Regions from separate parts of the Homo sapiens genome. Here all the other regions are linked to region 1. The links are contacts of gene promoters, found by promoter capture Hi-C in blood cells and fetal thymus (Javierre and others, 2016). All regions are on one chromosome and are shown on one strand. Each heading gives the region's core, a stretch centred on a gene start or on the middle of the fragment in contact. The rest is flanking DNA. Distances are from core to core; before and after follow the strand shown. Region 1 holds the start of ADI1 (acireductone dioxygenase 1). Region 2 overlaps CPSF3 (cleavage and polyadenylation specific factor 3). Region 3 holds the start of RRM2 (ribonucleotide reductase regulatory subunit M2).

Region 1 (2,920 bases), core at 69-2,568:
GTATGCCAATTGTCACTTCCCTCTTCTGTTATTTAGGATAGAACAAGATGATATCCAAATAGATTATGCTGGAATATTCTATAATCCTTTCCCAAGGGAAAAAGTGTGGTGTCCAGGTAACCCTGTGTATTTCATTTAAATCACATGAATGAAGATTAGATCCAGTCACCCCTCAGCCTATCCCTGAGGCCTACCCTGGCCCTCTCTTTTGCAGTAAACCTTTGTTACTGCAAAACCATTTGCAAATAAACAAGGTGAGCGGATCTGGACTGGTGCTGTGCAAGCAACGGGACACCGGTGCAAAGCCTAGCCCCGCCTTGCAAAGCTAGCGTTACAGAGGCAGGGCTGACACCGGGCCCAGCCGGGACCCAAGCCAGCTCCACCGCCCACTGGAGACGCCCCCACCCCACCACCGAGCGCTACCCCCCGGGGATCCCCGACAGACCGCGGCAGGACCCCGCCTCGATCTGCTGGCGCCCGGTCCCTCCCCCAGGACACTTTCAAGCGGAGTCCCCCTTCCTCCGATAGAAGAAACCCCTGGGCCTTTGACCGAGGTTAGCCAGGCAGGCAGGGCGTCGGACAAGCCCAACGAGCCCACGAACTCGCAGCCCGCCTCCGGCGAATCTTGCAGCCCTGCCGGCCGACCCTTCAGGTCGCTGCCAATCCCGGAGCTGCGCGTGCGCAGCGAGTCCCGGCTGCGAGGCCCCTGACTCGCCAACTCTGCTGCTGAGCATGCGCAGCACACCCCAGGCAACAGAAACGGACCGCCGACCCCCACCAGCCCCGCTGCTGAGCATGCGCAGCCCACCCCAGGCGCCGGAAGCCGACCGCCAACCCCGTAAACTTCGCTGCTGAGCATGCGCAGCACACCACAGGCGCTGGGGGCTGACCGCCGACCCCTCAACGCCGCTGCTGAGCATGCGCAGCACACCCAGGCGCCGCGCAGGAGGCCCTGACCACCCAGCCCCACTGCTGAGCATGCGCAGCCCACCCCAGGCACCGGGAGCCGCCACGAACCCCCAAATCCCGCTGCTGAGCATGCGCAGCATGCCGCGGCTCCCAGGCCGCTGCCCGGCACCTGGAGGAGGCTGGGCTGTGCGCGGCGTTTGGGGGTCGGCGTCGCCCGCACGCTCTGCGAGGCTTGGGCTCGCGTACCTTCCAGTAGAGCACCCCGAGCCGCCGCAGCTGCTCCAGGCCCACTGGGCGGCCGGGGTCGGGGCGGTGGGGTTGCCGCGGGTCGCCCGGGGCGTCGTCCATATACCAGGCCTGCACCATGACGCGCAGTGCGGGTGCCGTGTTCGAACCCAGGGGCCGCGCTCGGAGCCCGTCGGCCGCGCTTTATCTTATAGGGAGGCGTGGACGCGCATGGGAGCCGGGATTGGGCGGCTGGTTGGAGGCAGGGCCGGCGCGGGGGAGGCCCCACGGCTCCGCTGTTTTCGGAAGCAAAGGCATTCAAGCCCCGACCCTGTCCTGGGCACCCTCGGACCTGCCTGAGGCCCGCGGCCCGGGGCCAGCCGTTCGCCAGACGCGCCGGGCAGGTGAAGCTCACCGTAGGCATCGCACGTGCCTTGTGTGTGCTGCCGCGGTCTCCCTGCACCTTCAGAGCAATCTTGTGAGGCAAACGACGTTAAACGTGTTTAGAGTATGGAAAGCAAATGCAAAAAAAAAAAAAAAAGAATAAGGATTTTGTTAAGCTCATGCAGTCCATATGGGCACAGTTGAGACTTCACAGCTCGGATCCCAGGTGAGACATTGTCCTCCACCTCCCCGCTCGCCAGACTTTTGCAGTGTCGGCATTCTGCAGTGCTACCCTGTACTTTTTAAACTTCCTCTTGTTTCCTCTTTTCATCGTTTCTCCCTTCCCCATACACTGTAATGTGCTAGTCTTAGAATAAAAACAAGCTTCCCCTATCCCATTCTGAATTTTTCAATGTAGCTAATAAAGTCCAGCCGCTTGACCATCCTAGATGTCTTTTCAAACCAACGAGTTGAAAAAGATCAGATTATCTCAGCCATTCCCTCAGTCTCTTTAACAAATAACGATAAAGCAGACAGGATTTAAATGAGACTGCTGTAAGAGCACAACCCCAATGCATGCAATTGACTCTTGAACTTCCAGAAATATTGCAAGAAAAATACACACTTATTTCATTTCTGTTCCCTTGCTCTAATGGCTTTGCAAATACATCCTCCTTAGAGAGCCTACCTCTCCACCTCTTCACTTGACCAGTTACTACTCATCCTTCAAGAACACACCTTAGACGCCATTGCCCATTTTTCTGCAGCACTCATGACAAACCTTCATGCAAGAATCTAATGGCAATCTCGCACCTCGCATTTTCTCCTTAAGCCACTGCAATAAGGCTTCGCTTCTCACCACTGGGGAACTGCTAATGACTGCCATATTGCCAGATCCAATCATGGCACTTCTGTTCTTACCAGCAACATTCGTCACAGTTGCCCACGCCCTTCTTGAAACATTTTCTCATTTTCCTTCATGAGGGCATCTTGGCTGCTCCTTCCCAGGCCCCTCCTAGCTCCTGCTCCTCTAACCACTGGTTAGTGGAGCGTTCCAGACTCTCCTCGTCCTGTTCCTATCCACTCACTCCAGGCGACTTTCCATGCTGTGCTGCCGGCTCCTGCAGCCACATCTCCAACCTGGACCTCATTCCAGAACCTCAGGCTTGAGTATCCAGTTGGTGTTGTCACATACATGGCTAATCAGTGTGTCAAACCTAACATGGCCAAAACAACTGATTCCCCACACACACCCCCAAACATGCTTCTCCCTAACCTTTCCCGTCTCAGTGAACGGCAGCACTGACTGCCCAGTGGCTTAATAAAAAAATCTAGGTGTACTCTCAGTTTTGCTTTTCCTCACCCTCAAGATCCAATCCAATCTATCAGCAAGTCATGTTGC
Region 2 (3,203 bases), core at 151-2,650, 5.9 Mb after region 1:
ATGTCTGCGATTCCTGCTGAGGAGAGCGACCAGCTGCTGATCCGACCCCTGTAAGGGACCAGCGAGAGAGGGAATGAAGCCACGGGCTGTGAGGGGCGCGAGGGGTAACCGGAGACTGGCCTCCTCCGTCGCCCGCGCTCCCACCTACCCCGGCAGCCTGCCTTTGGTCCGCGCTTGCGGGCCAGGCTTCTCAGGCTCGAGGGGTTGGAGGACCGTTGATCGGAAGGGGCCTGCTATAGAGTGAACGGGATTTTGCTTTTTCATCAGTTTCAGGGGAGGGTATGTTGGAGTCGGAAAAAAAAAAGTTTTACGGGGCCACCGCTCGCTTTCGTACACGCTAAGAAGCGTTTTCACTTAGCACAAGCACGGATCTCTGCGCGTCAGGGCAAGCTGTGAGGGAGCCGGTGAAGCTTATGACCGACAGGATGAGAGGAGGACCTGAATGAGGCTACAGCCGTGCAGGGAAGAATTAAGTCTGTTTCTTAACACCAGGGCTTCACATGTGCCAGAAGTTAGAAAATATTAGGGACTTGCCGTGAGTTTCGATCTTCTCAGCTCAGGCCCTAGTAGAATAAGGAAGGTGTAAAGCTGGAGAAGAGAAAGTGCAGAGGTGTTAGGGACAAAAACTCAGCCCTCGACTGTCCATAAGGAGAGTGGCCTTTCAGTGGACACGATCCTCATCAGTCGGGAATGCTGCTGAAGGGGAGATGCAAATGTAGAGAACTTGAATTCCTACAGATGAGCATTTCGAACCCACAACATGTTTATTGTTAGATACTAGTTGGCACAACATGAATATACGCTTTCCAAAAGGTAGAAAGTATCTCCTTTACACAATCATTCAGTAAGGCTTCATTGAGCACCTGCTTGGGACATAGTCCGTTTCCTTCTGCTTAGTTCACACCTGTCATGTCTTCCTGTGATGAGCAAACACTGAGCAAGTGTCAAGCACCACACATGGGGATATAGACGCAACAGAGGGCCCAGTTAATTGCTCTCGCTCTTTTGGAGAGAATTACAGTGCACAGTGGGAAATATTGGAGAGATACTTTGGAATAATAGGAGACTATTACTTTGAAGTCAGACCTGAAGTCCATTATCTACTTGACCAATTAGTAGGACAACAATCTCACTGAACCCGTTTTCTCATATGGAAATAAGATAAAACTTGAAGAGTGAACATCGCGGTAGGTGCTTTGTAAATAATAGCTAATCTAAGAACGCAGGCAGGCATTGCACTGAGCACTGTGAAAGTATGGAAAAGGGATTTCTGACAGATTGAGGAAAAAAGGATACCTCGTGGATCCTGAAAAATGTGATGCCTGAGCTGAGTCCTAAAGAATGAGTAGGAGTTAAAGACTGGGGGGCCCAGGATGTTCTAGGCAGTGGAAGTGGCACATATGAAAGTGAGAGTGGTCACAGCTTGTGGCCAGATTCCTCATGGCTGTAGCTAAAGAGTTGAGTTAGCAGATGAAGCGACAGGCAGTTGAGGTCCAGTTTAGGAAGCACCTCGTATACACAGGAGTTTGGACCTTTATCAAGTCAATTACAGGGAGCCAGCGAAGGCTATTAAGCAAGCATGGATATTGTGGGAATTATGTTTTAGGAAAATCTCTCCTGGCAGCAGTGTAGCAGATGAATAAAAGCATGGATGAATAAAAGCATGGATTGAGTAGAGCAGATTCAGTGAGATATTGAAAGATTCTAAGTCTAGCTGACGAGAGCCTGTAGTGAGTGATGTGAGTGTGAGAGAGTATGCAAATGAGATCTTCAGGATTTTGTGGCTGATCAGCTGTATCTGGAAGGGTGGTTGTGGGGAGGGAAGGCAGGGCAGAGAGGATGTTATGATCAGATTCCTAAGTTTGGCAGTTGGGAAAGGGTAGTGTTATTCACTCAAGGAGTATAAGAGATGGGGCAACTCTGGAGTAAATTTGGGAATTTGGTTGTTTCGTAACAGCTTTATTGAGATACAGTTTACATACCATACAACTCACAATTTACATACCATACAACTCATTTAAAGAGTATAATTCAGTCGTTCTTAACATAGAGTTATACAACCATCACCTCTCTCTAATTCCAGCACATTTTCATCACTCCCAAGAGATACCTTGTATTCATTAGCAGTCATAGACAATCCCCACTACCTCTCCAGCCCTAAGCAACCACTAATCTACTTCTTTATAGATTTGCCTGTTCTGGACATTTCATGTAAGTGTGATCATACAATACATACTCTTTTGTCTCTGGCATCTTTCATTTAGCATAATCTTTCCAAGGTTCAAAATTGAGGAGTTTTGTTCATTCAATAAGTATTTTTTGTGATGTGCTACATGCCAGGTACTGTAGCAATACAGCAGTGAATAAGATGGACAATGCCTCTGTTCTTAGGAAGCTTTCATTTAGTAGCCTGAAAGAAGACATAAGTAGGTACAATAACTTCATGTAGTTGTATTAAGATAACTGATGCTGGGTTGTGGCTTGCTGTGAAGGGCAAATTAGAGGAGGTAGTCAAGGGAAAGCATCTGAGAAGGTGACGTTGGAACTGAGACCCAAATGATACAAAGGAGCCAACCACATCAATATCTGAAGACAAAGCATTTCAGGAAGAAAGTAGAGCAAGTACGGGGCATGTGGTGGAAACTAGTTTGGCATCTTGAATATGAAGTCCCGGGAGAGATCCTAGTAGAGATACCTAGTGTCACGTGTATGTATTAAAGGTCTAGAATTCAGAAGAACAATCTGGGTTACAAATACAGGCTTGGAAGTCCTTAGCATGTCAGAAAGATGAGAATGAAGATTGAGAAGTTGGCCAAGGAGCAAACCCTCGGAATATCAACATTTAAAGGGTAGGCAGAGGTGGCTGAATATGTGAAGGAAACAGGAAAGCCAGCAAGACAAGATGAGAGCATCAGGTCAGAGAAGCCAAGGGAGAGGTGCTTGAGGAAGGAGCAGGTACTCCTTAGGAGTGACAACGGCTGCCAAGAGAACAAGATAGGGACTGACACCTATAGTTCCAGCTACTTGGGAGGCTGAGGCGGGAGGATCACTTGAGCCCAGGAGTTGAAGGCCAGACTGGGCAACATAGGGGGACCTTGTCTCAAAAAAAAAAAAAAGACTGAAATGACTACTGAGCAGCAAGGACAGTTTCAGAAAAGTGATTGGTAAAAGCCAGAGTATAGCGAATTGAGGAGCGAGTAGAA
Region 3 (3,044 bases), core at 127-2,626, 6.6 Mb after region 1:
GCTGTTGAAGCTTTCTCAGGTTAATGATTTCTTTCTTGGATCTTAAAGTTTCTTTCTCTTCCTTTATTTTTGGCATTTTGCCCGTTGCAGGGCCTGGCAAATCAGAAAGCCACATAGAAAATTAAATGAAAGCTATTGCTAAGTTCCAGTCTCTACACCAGTGGAGTTTTCAAACTCCTCTTCAGCATATTTGACGCCCAATGAGTAGTACATTAATTCCTAGTCCTAAAATCATTCTGTGAACTTTCTCCCAGGAATTTTTGCTCAGTTTGCAATTAAAACAACTTTTTTTCTTCTCTTTTTAATGGCAGAGGCGGGGTCTCACTATGTTGCCCAGGATGGTCTCCAGCTCCTGGCCTCAAACAATCCTCCTGCCTTGGCCTCCCAAAGTGCTGGGATTACAGGCGTGAGCCACCGCGCCCAGCCACAGTTTGCAATTCTTAAGGCAAGGGTGACAATAGGGGTCAGGGGTCTGACAGGAGACAGGATTTCTGTGGAAAACTGCACCAAGGGCCTTCTCGCCATGTCCCGTAGTTTGAAGGTTTACAAAGGACTGCACATTTTACATGAGTCATCTCAACGAACGCTCTCCTCACCGCATTAACAGTCCACGCGGTTACGAGTCCCATTTTACTCACGGGGACACCGAATCTGTAAGAAGCCTGGTCGCTTGTCCCAGCAAAACGAGCCACGGGGCTCAGCGGCCCTAACTTTTAGGCTGTAGGGTCCTCGCCGACCACCCCGCCAAAATGTCAGGCCTCGGGGCCCTTGCACCCCCACCGCAGGGACACGGATCGAAAGGGTCGCAGCAACGCCTCCCCCGCACCCAGGAGCGTTTTCCAGGCCTTTGCACCAACCTCGTTGGCTAAGCCCCCTGCCCGGCGGCGGCCCGGCTGGGAGGAGGTGCTTTCGGGAGGCGGGGCCGCGGCCCGGGGATCCTCTCGCGCCCGCGGGCTCCAATCGCTGCTCCTCACGCAATCCTAAACGGTTCCCGGGCGAACCGGGGCCCGCGCGCGCCAAGGCCGCCGAGACCCTCAGGGGCTGCGGCCCTGGTCCCGCGGGACCTGTGGGGGCCTGGGCGGCGGCGCCCCCGACCCAGCCAGCGGACGGGCCGGGGGGGGAACCGGGAGGTCCCGGGGGGCGTCCACGGGGGTGTCCCCGGGGGTCTCCGGAAGGCGCCGGCGGAGGCTCCCGCGCTGCGCTTGAAAATCGCGCGCGGCCCCGCGGCCAGCCTGGGTAGGGGCAAGGCGCAGCCAATGGGAAGGGTCGGAGGCATGGCACAGCCAATGGGAAGGGCCGGGGCACCAAAGCCAATGGGAAGGGCCGGGAGCGCGCGGCGCGGGAGATTTAAAGGCTGCTGGAGTGAGGGGTCGCCCGTGCACCCTGTCCCAGCCGTCCTGTCCTGGCTGCTCGCTCTGCTTCGCTGCGCCTCCACTATGCTCTCCCTCCGTGTCCCGCTCGCGCCCATCACGGACCCGCAGCAGCTGCAGCTCTCGCCGCTGAAGGGGCTCAGCTTGGTCGACAAGGAGAACACGGTGAGCCCGCGGGGAGGGCGCTGCGGGCAGGGGAGGGAGGCAGGGAAAGCGAAGCCGCTCCTCACTCACACGCGTCTCCCCGCAGCCGCCGGCCCTGAGCGGGACCCGCGTCCTGGCCAGCAAGACCGCGAGGAGGATCTTCCAGGAGCCCACGGAGCCGGTGAGTGGCGGGCGTGGGGCAGAGGGGCCAGGGACGGCCTTGGGCGTCTTGGCGCCAAAGCCGCATTGTTTCCTCAGCTGTTCACACTCCCGCCCCGGCTCCTTTCCCGCCTAGGCGGCCCCTCCCCAGGGCTGCCTCCCGCGCCCCTCGGCCCATTTCCCGGTTCGGGCGTGCGCTCCTCTGCTGCGACCCACGGAGTGCGACGGGACAGCCACGTTTTCACATCGGGCCCCGTGAAATTGCCGCCAATGGAAAGGACTTGGTCCAGAAAAACGTTAGTTTCATATGGTTCGCCCGGTACTTAAATGTTTTATTTTCTCCCCCAACAGAAAACTAAAGCAGCTGCCCCCGGCGTGGAGGATGAGCCGCTGCTGAGAGAAAACCCCCGCCGCTTTGTCATCTTCCCCATCGAGTACCATGATATCTGGCAGATGTATAAGAAGGCAGAGGCTTCCTTTTGGACCGCCGAGGAGGTAATCGGAGGACCCCAGAAGACCCCTGCAGGGGTGACCGTCACGCCTCAGACATAAATGCACTTGGAGGTTCCCGTTGGCAAGGGGGGCTAACTGTGGGGCATAGTAAGTGGTGCCAGCATACTTAAAGTTTGAGTGCTCAGTGTGAGTCCTGTAGGCTTTACTCTCTTCCTTTTATGCTAAAATTGTGACTTCCGAACCTCAGGTGGACCTCTCCAAGGACATTCAGCACTGGGAATCCCTGAAACCCGAGGAGAGATATTTTATATCCCATGTTCTGGCTTTCTTTGCAGCAAGCGATGGCATAGTAAATGAAAACTTGGTGAGTTTCCAAAACATCTTTCATTCATTTGACGTTGACGATCTGAGGTCGAACTAGTTCGCTTTCCTCGTCTTGTATGTTTTTCCATGCTGAGTGCATCTGTGTGTGTAAGCTGGGTTTTATATTACATGGCATTTCCTGTTTTGTAACACTTTGCAGTTCTTTCTTATGGTATTTTCCCGACTCTAGAGAAGCTGAGACAATATTAAGTGGTAGCAATGTGATGACTCTTTGTGGCCACCACATCTGCCCCCTCTTTTTTTTTTTTTTTTTGAGACAGAGTCTCACTCTGGCCCAGGCTGGAGTGCAGTGGTGTGATCTTGGCTCACTGCAACCTCCGCCTCCTGGGTTCAAGCGATTCCCCAACCTCAGCCTCATGAGTACCTGGGATTACAGACGTGCGCCACCATGCCTAGCTAATATCTGTATTTTTAGTAGAGACAGGGTTTTACCATGTTGGCCAGGCTGGTCTCGAACTGCTGACCTCAGGTGATCCACCCACCTTGGCCTCCCAAAGTGTTGGGATTACAGGCGTGAGCCACCACGCCCGGCTC

The links. Contacts are between HindIII fragments. The CHiCAGO score rates a contact against its expected background, and 5 or more counts as called.
Region 2: a fragment that was not itself captured here is called in contact with the fragment with the promoter of ADI1 in region 1 in 4 of 17 cell types (non-activated CD4 T cells, naive B cells, monocytes and 1 more); the score reaches 10.7 in non-activated CD4 T cells.
Region 3: a contact is called between the fragment with the promoter of RRM2 here and the fragment with the promoter of ADI1 in region 1, in 1 of 17 cell types (monocytes). The highest score is 5.5, in monocytes.

The regions. Positions count from the first base shown.
Region 1 is chr2:3,518,213-3,521,132 of GRCh38, forward strand. ADI1 (acireductone dioxygenase 1) reads right to left here and starts at 1,319. Exons shown (of 4, transcript NM_018269.4): 1 at 1,156-1,319. The coding sequence starts at 1,275. LOC124907725 (a long non-coding RNA gene) reads left to right here and starts at 1,334. Exons shown (of 2, transcript XR_007086195.1): 1 at 1,334-1,744. RefSeq lists silencers at 226-425, 906-965, 1,046-1,365, 1,436-1,565 and enhancers at 985-1,506, 1,507-2,027. The HindIII fragment of the contact is 6,500 bases long and covers 1-1,900 here.
Region 2 is chr2:9,423,774-9,426,976 of GRCh38, forward strand. It overlaps CPSF3 (cleavage and polyadenylation specific factor 3), which reads left to right. Exons shown (of 18, transcript NM_016207.4): 1 at 1-50. The coding sequence starts at 1. Among named protein-coding and RNA genes, the nearest start is that of CPSF3, 1.7 kb to the left of the region's middle. RefSeq lists enhancers at 1-27, 68-117. The HindIII fragment of the contact is 1,985 bases long and covers 409-2,393 here.
Region 3 is chr2:10,121,363-10,124,406 of GRCh38, forward strand. It overlaps RRM2 (ribonucleotide reductase regulatory subunit M2), which reads left to right and starts at 1,377. Exons shown (of 10, transcript NM_001034.4): 1 at 1,377-1,535; 2 at 1,621-1,695; 3 at 2,025-2,168; 4 at 2,374-2,490. The coding sequence starts at 1,437. RefSeq lists enhancers at 1-50, 99-654, 412-481, 502-611 and silencers at 832-1,431, 838-1,338. The HindIII fragment of the contact is 3,317 bases long and covers 9-3,044 here.